Regions from separate parts of the Homo sapiens genome. Here region 1 is linked to region 2. The links are contacts of gene promoters, found by promoter capture Hi-C in human tissues and cell types (Jung and others, 2019). All regions are on one chromosome and are shown on one strand. The core of a region is centred on a gene start or on the middle of the fragment in contact, and the rest is flanking DNA. Distances in the headings are between cores, read along the strand shown. Region 1 overlaps PCM1 (pericentriolar material 1). Region 2 holds the start of CNOT7 (CCR4-NOT transcription complex subunit 7).

The links. Contacts are between HindIII fragments. The study calls those that stand out against the background at their distance.
Region 1: a fragment that was not itself captured here is called in contact with the fragment with the promoter of CNOT7 in region 2 in 1 of the 25 tissues and cell types used here (lymphoblastoid cells).

The regions. Positions count from the first base shown.
Region 1 is chr8:17,988,113-17,991,860 of GRCh38, reverse strand. PCM1 (pericentriolar material 1) reads right to left here. Exons shown (of 39, transcript NM_006197.4): 27 at 1,882-2,002; 28 at 161-319. Among named protein-coding and RNA genes, the nearest start is that of PCM1, 67 kb to the right of the region's middle. The HindIII fragment of the contact is 6,094 bases long and covers 1-3,748 here.
Region 2 is chr8:17,244,440-17,248,238 of GRCh38, reverse strand. CNOT7 (CCR4-NOT transcription complex subunit 7) reads left to right here and starts at 1,382. Exons shown (of 7, transcript NM_013354.7): 1 at 1,382-1,564; 2 at 2,992-3,203. The coding sequence starts at 3,087. It overlaps VPS37A (VPS37A subunit of ESCRT-I), which reads right to left and starts at 1,281. Exons shown (of 12, transcript NM_152415.3): 1 at 870-1,281. The coding sequence starts at 994. RefSeq lists an enhancer at 785-1,633. The HindIII fragment of the contact is 14,692 bases long and covers 1-3,799 here.

The DNA.
Region 1 (3,748 bases), core at 500-2,999, 740 kb before region 2:
GTGGGAAGGGGGTGAGGGATCAAACAATACACACTGGGTACAGTGTATACTGCTCAGGCGATGGGTGCACCAAAATCTCAGAAATCACCACTAAAGAACTTATTCATGTAACCAAACACCACCTGTTCTCCAAAAACCTACCGAAAACAAAAATATATACCTTCTAAATTATTAACTGTAGTACCTGCACCAGCACCATCTCCATCCTCAATAATCCTGCAGGTGCATCTCATATTTGAGTTACTTTCAGCCTCAGTCTTCATACGCTCATATTCTCTCATTCTGGCTAATGCTTGATCTAAGTGAATCACGGTGTTACCTACATTTGGAACAAAAATATTTTTTGAGTATGTAAAAGTGAACTTTTTCATATATTCCTCAAAATGCATTAATAAAAAAATGTCCAAACAAAAGGGAGGAAAATTAGCTTTAACAAGTTCTACACACTATACTACTTGAGCACTTCATATACATTGTCACACTTATTTAATCCTTAAAATAATCCTATATAGTAGATGACATTACTTTCATTTGCAGAAAATTTAAGTAACTTGCTCAAGCTTTCACAGACAGTTCAATGTAGGAACAAGGATTTAAACTTAGTTATCAAACTCTGAAGCCCATATTTATTTCATTTTGTTGTTTCATTTAAACAATACAAGTGAATTCCAAAATGTCATGCAAATTCTGATGAAAACAACGCAACCTAAAACAAGCAAATTAGGTAAGAAAAAGGCCTATCAATGAAATTTCCCAATTCTATGTCTACTTCAGACACAGCTACTGGTGCAGGTTTGTAAGAAAAAAAAAAAAATACCAGTAAATGAAAGAAAATACGTAGGAGTCGAAGTATTCTGGCAACTCAGAAAGAGAGGGACAACCTAAGGGGTGAGGGTTGGCAGGCCACACAGTAATTTTTCTCTGTAATGGGATGAACTCAATGCAGACCCAAATAAGCATTTACTTAGAGGTCAGCTAAGGCTGAGTCCTCAATAATTACAATAAGCAAAAGGAAGACTTTTGTTTTGGCGAACAGTAGGAATGTAATGATAGGGCAAGGCTAAGTCCTTTTCTTTATAGTGGAAAAATACCTTTGAAATAATCTAAGTCTTCTCTTCATCACGTGAACAAACACTAGAGTAACAGGACATTACATTATTTTATCAACTAAGCACCCTGGATGGCAAATGACTGAATTCTCAGGTTCTCTTTTGATTGGCCACAGTCTAGAAACGTATCAAGTATCTACATATTTTTCTTTTCCTTAAATTTCCTTTCCAAGTCTAGGACTCGAATTTTTTCTCCACTGCAGCCAGGCAACCCTCTAAACCTCTTTTGTTTTACAGCTGATGGGAGAGGGGGAAAAAAAAAAAAACCCAAACAAACAAAAAAAAACAACCAAAACCATTTGCTATGCCTGAGAATTACTTGAGGTTTTCACTACAGGTTATTTAAGAAAACTGACTGCTTAACTCAAATTACAAAGTTAATATTTTTATTAAAAATATGATTAGATGAGGCCTGAATTGTTCCCATGAATTAACTAGATGACCTTAAACGATGACCTTTCCTTTAAGGAAAAGGAAATTAACATTTTCTGAACTCAAGCAAGTAAGTTACATTATATTTTCACAAGAACATAGCAAGGTAGGTTAAAATTCCCATTTCCTTAGTATATGCAGAGTCAAAAATGTTGGATGATTTGCTCACAGGGTTAAGAGTCAGAAGATTCTTGATTTTAGACTGATAGATAATTAAGTCCACATTCTTTCAACCACACACACTTCGCCTTTCTAGACTTGTTTCCTTATCAACGCCAATTCAAAGACTGGACCAGATCAACTTAAAGTTGTTTCTAAGATTATAAACAATTCTGCTTACCTAGATCATCTGTTGCAAAAGGCTCAAAATTTGATGATACAGACAGGACACTAGCATTATCAGCATCATTTTGCTCACTTATTTTATGGGTTTCTCTTTCAAAGTTCTTCTCAAAAGTTTCCTAAGTTACAGTAAAACAAACAAAAATCACTAATACTTCTAAGAATTTCATATTAATAATCTAACAGAGATAACTAAGTATTTACATAAAATTGTACACTTAAAAGATATTCATAAGTTTCCTCAGTATTCTGTCCAAACAAGATGATAATATAACCAAAGTTATTAAACGCTGAATACAGAGTCACAGAGAACAGTGATATAAGTAGCCTTGCAGAATATTTATTATGTAGATAAACACACACAAAGACAGCTACTGATTAAATTCTAATTTGGCAAAGTTAACATTTTACATTATTTCTATACTCTCAGGGACATTCTCCTATCTCCAAATGCTAACAATGTCTAGTAGCTTACTCTACCTGGTTGTCTCACATCAGAAAAGAAAACATCACAACATCATTTGCATTTTTAAAAAATAAACTTTATTGAAATATAATTAATATACAATGCACTCACTTTAAATGTACAGTTTGATGAGTTTTGACAAATGTATACACTCATGTAACCAGATTCCCTAAAGATAAAGACCATTTCCACTGGCCCAGGACGTTTCTTCACAACCCTCTACAGTCAATCTCCACCACACCCTACTCATGATTTCTATCACTGTAGATCAGTTCTGCTGGTTGTAGAACTTCATACAAATGGAACCAGCCAATATACACTCTTCATTGTCTGACTTTTCACTTAGTATGTTTCTGAAATGAATCCATGTTTTGTGTTTCAGAAGTTCAGAAATTATTTTTTAATGGCTGCACAGTATTCCACTGTATAGATATACCACAGTTTGTTTATCCATTTATCTCTTGATGCTTCAGTTTGAGGCTATCATGACTAAAGATGCTATGAACATTAATGTGCAAGTGTTTTTGTGATGCATATTTTCATTTCTCTTGGATGAATACCTAGAAGAGAAATTGCTGGGTCACATGCCACGTTTATGTTTATAAGCAACTGCCAAACTGCTTTCCAAGTGGTTGTGCAATTTTACATTCTCATAAGGACTGTGAGAGTTCCAACTGTTCCACATTCTCACCAACACTTCTTATTGTCAATCTTTTCATTTTAGCCATTCTTGATGTGAAGTGGTATTTTCTGTGGCTTTAATTTGCATATTAGCCATTCATATATCTTCTTTCATTAAGTGCCTGTTCAAATCTCTTGCCCAGTTTTTACTGAGTTGTCTTACAACTGAGTTGTAAGCTTTATACAGTCTATATATCAGACAGTTGTCAGATATATATACTGGGATTATTTTCCCATAACAGTATCTTTTGAAAAGCAGAAAATTCCTATTTTTGTTAAGTCTAATTTCTTAATTTTTTCTTTTATAGTTAGTGCTTTCTCTGTCCTAAGAAAACTTAGCCTATGTCAAGGTCATAATTTTTTCCCATTTTCTTTTAAAAGTTTTAATAGTGTTGGCTTTTACACGACTTTAGGTCATTTCAAATTAATTTTGTGTATAGTGTGATGGTGGTAGGGTGTCTCACTTACACTTTGATTATGACATTTTACAGTTGTGTTCTTTCCCTTAACTAATGATCTTTTTAAAGTTTCCTATCTTCAATTATGAAATCAAACATTTGTCCCTGATTAAAGGAAATTTAGACATTAAGGAACGTATTTTAGGAATAGGGAAACCATTTTTTTTACTGTTTCAAGTAAGACTTGATGTGCTTCAAGTCTTCAAGACAGATGTGCTTTTACCATTTTATTATCATCGGGAGCAGGAGACACAAAGTGT
Region 2 (3,799 bases), core at 133-2,632:
GTCATCTTTATTTAAAATAGTGTGAAACTGTTAAGTAAATATACTTGCAAAATGCATAAAATATAAAGAAGCAGTTCTAATTTTTGAAAACCATTAGAGACCATAGACATTTGCAATGTAAAAGGCTGCAGCAAACCAATTTACAGTAAAAGTTGAAATAATATGAATTGTAAAAATATTTCTAAACTGACCATGATAAAATGAAAAACTCACAGGAAGACAACAGAACAATCAAGATGAACATAAAGTAATTCTTGAGCGTGGGGACAAGACTATGAAAGAAGTGAGAAATGTACATGCACTGGTCGCTGTGAGATGGGGAGAGACTGCTCCAACAGGGTAAATCTTAGAGACTCAAGAAGACTGACTACGTGATAAGTGACTCTCAGACGAGAAGCATTCACTGATGAAAACTCTGGCTTCCCTTTCCTTTGATGTTGCAACAGTTCTATTTTCCATTCTTTGTGAAACCTGGAGATTACTCTTCACAATTGTATTTTAACAATTCTGCTGACGCGGCAATCAGGTGGGCAAAGGGAAAGATCAGTGGCGAAGCCTGGGCAGCAAGGGATACTGGAAATAGACTATGAGAGAGATTGAGAGATTACAGTCAGCAGCTATGTGTCAGGAGGGATGAGGAAATCCGAGTTAGAAGCGCTGAGCAGTGGTGCGGCAGGAGGCAGGGAGGGTCCGGAGGAAAACAGTAAAAGGGGGCAGGAGTGGCAGAGCAAGCGTGTGACCCACAACCAAGGGAGGTAAACCACATGAGGAGCTGGTGGGGAGCAGACTGAGGCGCTGTGAGGGTGGTTAGGACAAGCCCGCCCTCCCACCCTACTTTTTCCTCCGGTGGAGAGGCAGCGACCAGTCACCTGGAGTGTGAGTTCCGGAGGGACTCGATCAGGCGCTGCTTCTGCTGCTGGAGGCTGGTGAGGCCACCGGGGGACCCAGCCGCGGAGGAGGAGGCGCTCTTGGTCAGGGGAAAAAGCCAGCTCATCCTCCTCGGGTCCACGGGCCGGAGGCCCTGGAAGGCTCTGGCCTGCTTCTCCCAGTGGCTCGGCCCGGCGGTTCTCCAGCGACAGAGGAGCGGGGTGGGACGTCCGTGGCCCAAGCGCTGGGGACCGCGTCTTCTCTAAGCCTGTCCTGCCTGCGCTCCCCGAGTTCTGGGGGACATGCTACGAACGGCGGGCGGCTGGAGAGGGAAACTTGCGGCCCGGAACAGGAGGTCCCACCTTCACGGCCCAGACGCCCAAACCGGCCAGCCAGGGAGCCTGGCCGCCCAGCGCTCCACCACCCGCGCCGCCGTCACTTGCGTGCCCCGCCCCCGGGGGCGCTCTCCGCCCCCTCTGCGTGTCGCGTCATCATCTAGCGCCCCCGTCAGGACGTGCGAAAAGCGACGGCGCAGCACGGTGCGGCGCAGCTCCTGCTCGCCTTTCCCTTCGCTGGGCGAGAGGTGTCTATGGGGCACCCGCTGCCGCCGCCGCTACCGCCACCGCCACCGCCACCGCCGCCGAGTGCTGTCTCTATGGCGAGGAGGAGGAGGAGGAGCGCGAGCTCAGCGACACAAGTAGATCTTGCATCCGCTGCAGCCTTACGGGGGGAGGGGCGGGTTAGGGAAGTAGAAAGGGGGCGGGGACGATGAACCTGAGAGGGTGCGCGATGGCGCCAGCTGGAGTGCGGCTGGCGGAGGAAGGAGCCTGGCGGCGGGTTGGGGGCTGGGTAACTGGGGCTGGGGGTTTGTCAAGGGGTTGGCGCGTAGTGATGACGCAAAGGCTTTGTACCTGGGGCTTCGCAGTGGGACGGAAATTGGGAGTGGAGGGCGGTGGCCTAGATCCTCACCTCTTCGTATTGTTTCACGCGGCAGTGCTTGGGAGTCAGTGTAGCTCCAGTCAGTGTTATCAGCACCTTCGCACTGGCGCTTTGCCAGGGAAGAGAGTTATCTATGGCTTGAATACCTCGGTGCCGTCCTCTCGTTTCTCTGGGAAACTGCAGTACGGAGATGCTTTCTCCAGTAATGAGAAGGCCTTTGGTGTCTCTTCGGGGCTTCTGGGACTGCAGTAGAGAGAGAGGTGGAGGAAAACAATGTTAGACTACAGGGTCTTTCCAAGTCTTTGTGTTTTTGTGCTTATGTGTGTGTGTGTGCCTATCGGGGTGGGAGAGTTATAAAGGAGGGGTGTCCTGGATCTCCTTTAGTTTCTCTACTTGGAGAATTGGAAGTTACATTTGTGACTCTTCAGAGTTTAGAAGACAGTCATAAGACCCTCTTTTTACTCTTGTTTTTTTTTTTTCCAATTTGTATGAAAAATGCAGAAGGATTTGAAATTTCCCTGCCCAAGAATCAACAGGAACTCTGTTTATAGACCAGAAATGTGACATCTATCTTTGGTAACCATGCAATATGCTCTAAGTTTTAGACGTTCTATTGTGTTCTTTTTCCGTTCTGCAACTGCGAACATTCAGATAATTTTCATGGCCGTTACTTTTTTCTCAGAGCATTTACAAACATTTTTGACCCCTCTAGTCTAGTTAGAATAAACGCCGGTAAAGTAGATCTTGTTATCAAGTCGGATTTTGGTTGTTTTATTAATGAGGAATAAAAATAAACACCATCTTTGCCATGGTAACATCTGATCTTGTCACATGTAAATAAGTAATTTTTCATTTTTTGTCTGGAAATGGATGGCTTTATAAAGTTTTATGCAGAGTAGTTGAACTCAGATAAATAATTAGTGGAAAGTTATAAAATATGATTAGTATGTATGTGTAAAAAAGCTATTTTAAAATAACTGAAATTAGGACCAGGAAATCTGTACTGTAGTCCTTTTTTTCCTATAGACTAGCTGTGTGACCTTAAGTTACTTTCTAAACTTTGATTTTTTTTTTTTATGAGTCAAGAACTTTGAATAAATAACTTCTTAGGTTCCTGCTGGATCAATTATTCTGTGATTCAGATTTGATATATCTGGTCTTCATATTGTTTTTTTATTTTGACAGGTACATAAATAAAGGATAAAATATTTTATGAAACAAATCTTCAATCAAGTATAACATTTTGATGCTTGGCATCTAGACTCCCTTGTGCCCTCACTATGCCAGCGGCAACTGTAGATCATAGCCAAAGAATTTGTGAAGTTTGGGCTTGCAACTTGGATGAAGAGATGAAGAAAATTCGTCAAGTTATCCGAAAATATAATTACGTTGCTATGGTATGCCCACAAGCAGATCTTTAAAACGCTTCATATAAAGGAGGAAAAGGAAATTTTAAAGTCTTGAATTCAACCCTTTTGGTTGATATTTTTAGGGATTAATTTCACCATGAAAAGTAAAATTTGTCACTGCCCTCCAGCCAAAATCCATCAGGAATACACCTGTGATTTGACAGGTTGGGTTTATCCCTCATTGCAGTGAGGGAAAACGCACTGGAATTCATGGGAACCATGGGCCGTTTGAATAAGAGTTAGGAAGGATTTGGGCTCGTGTCAGGTGGTCTTAGGGGAAGGTAAGGGAAGCAGAGCTTTACTGTGGATTGGATGTGTTCGGGAAGCTGGGGTAATTCTGTGATTGGGTATCTTACTAAGTCTTAAATGAGAGACTAGAATGAGGTTAAAGCTGCAGAGAAGGAACAGTCATTCATTTAGCCAGGATGGAGATACTTGGTCATTTTGTGGTTTGACATTTTTATTTTTTTGTCCTTGTTCAGACATGATTACAGAGTGGCCTTATTTGAGGTTGAACTTTTGTGAAATTGTGTTCAACAGGAGAACATTAGGGCGTGGCTATGAGTGCCAGGTCTGCTCCTAGC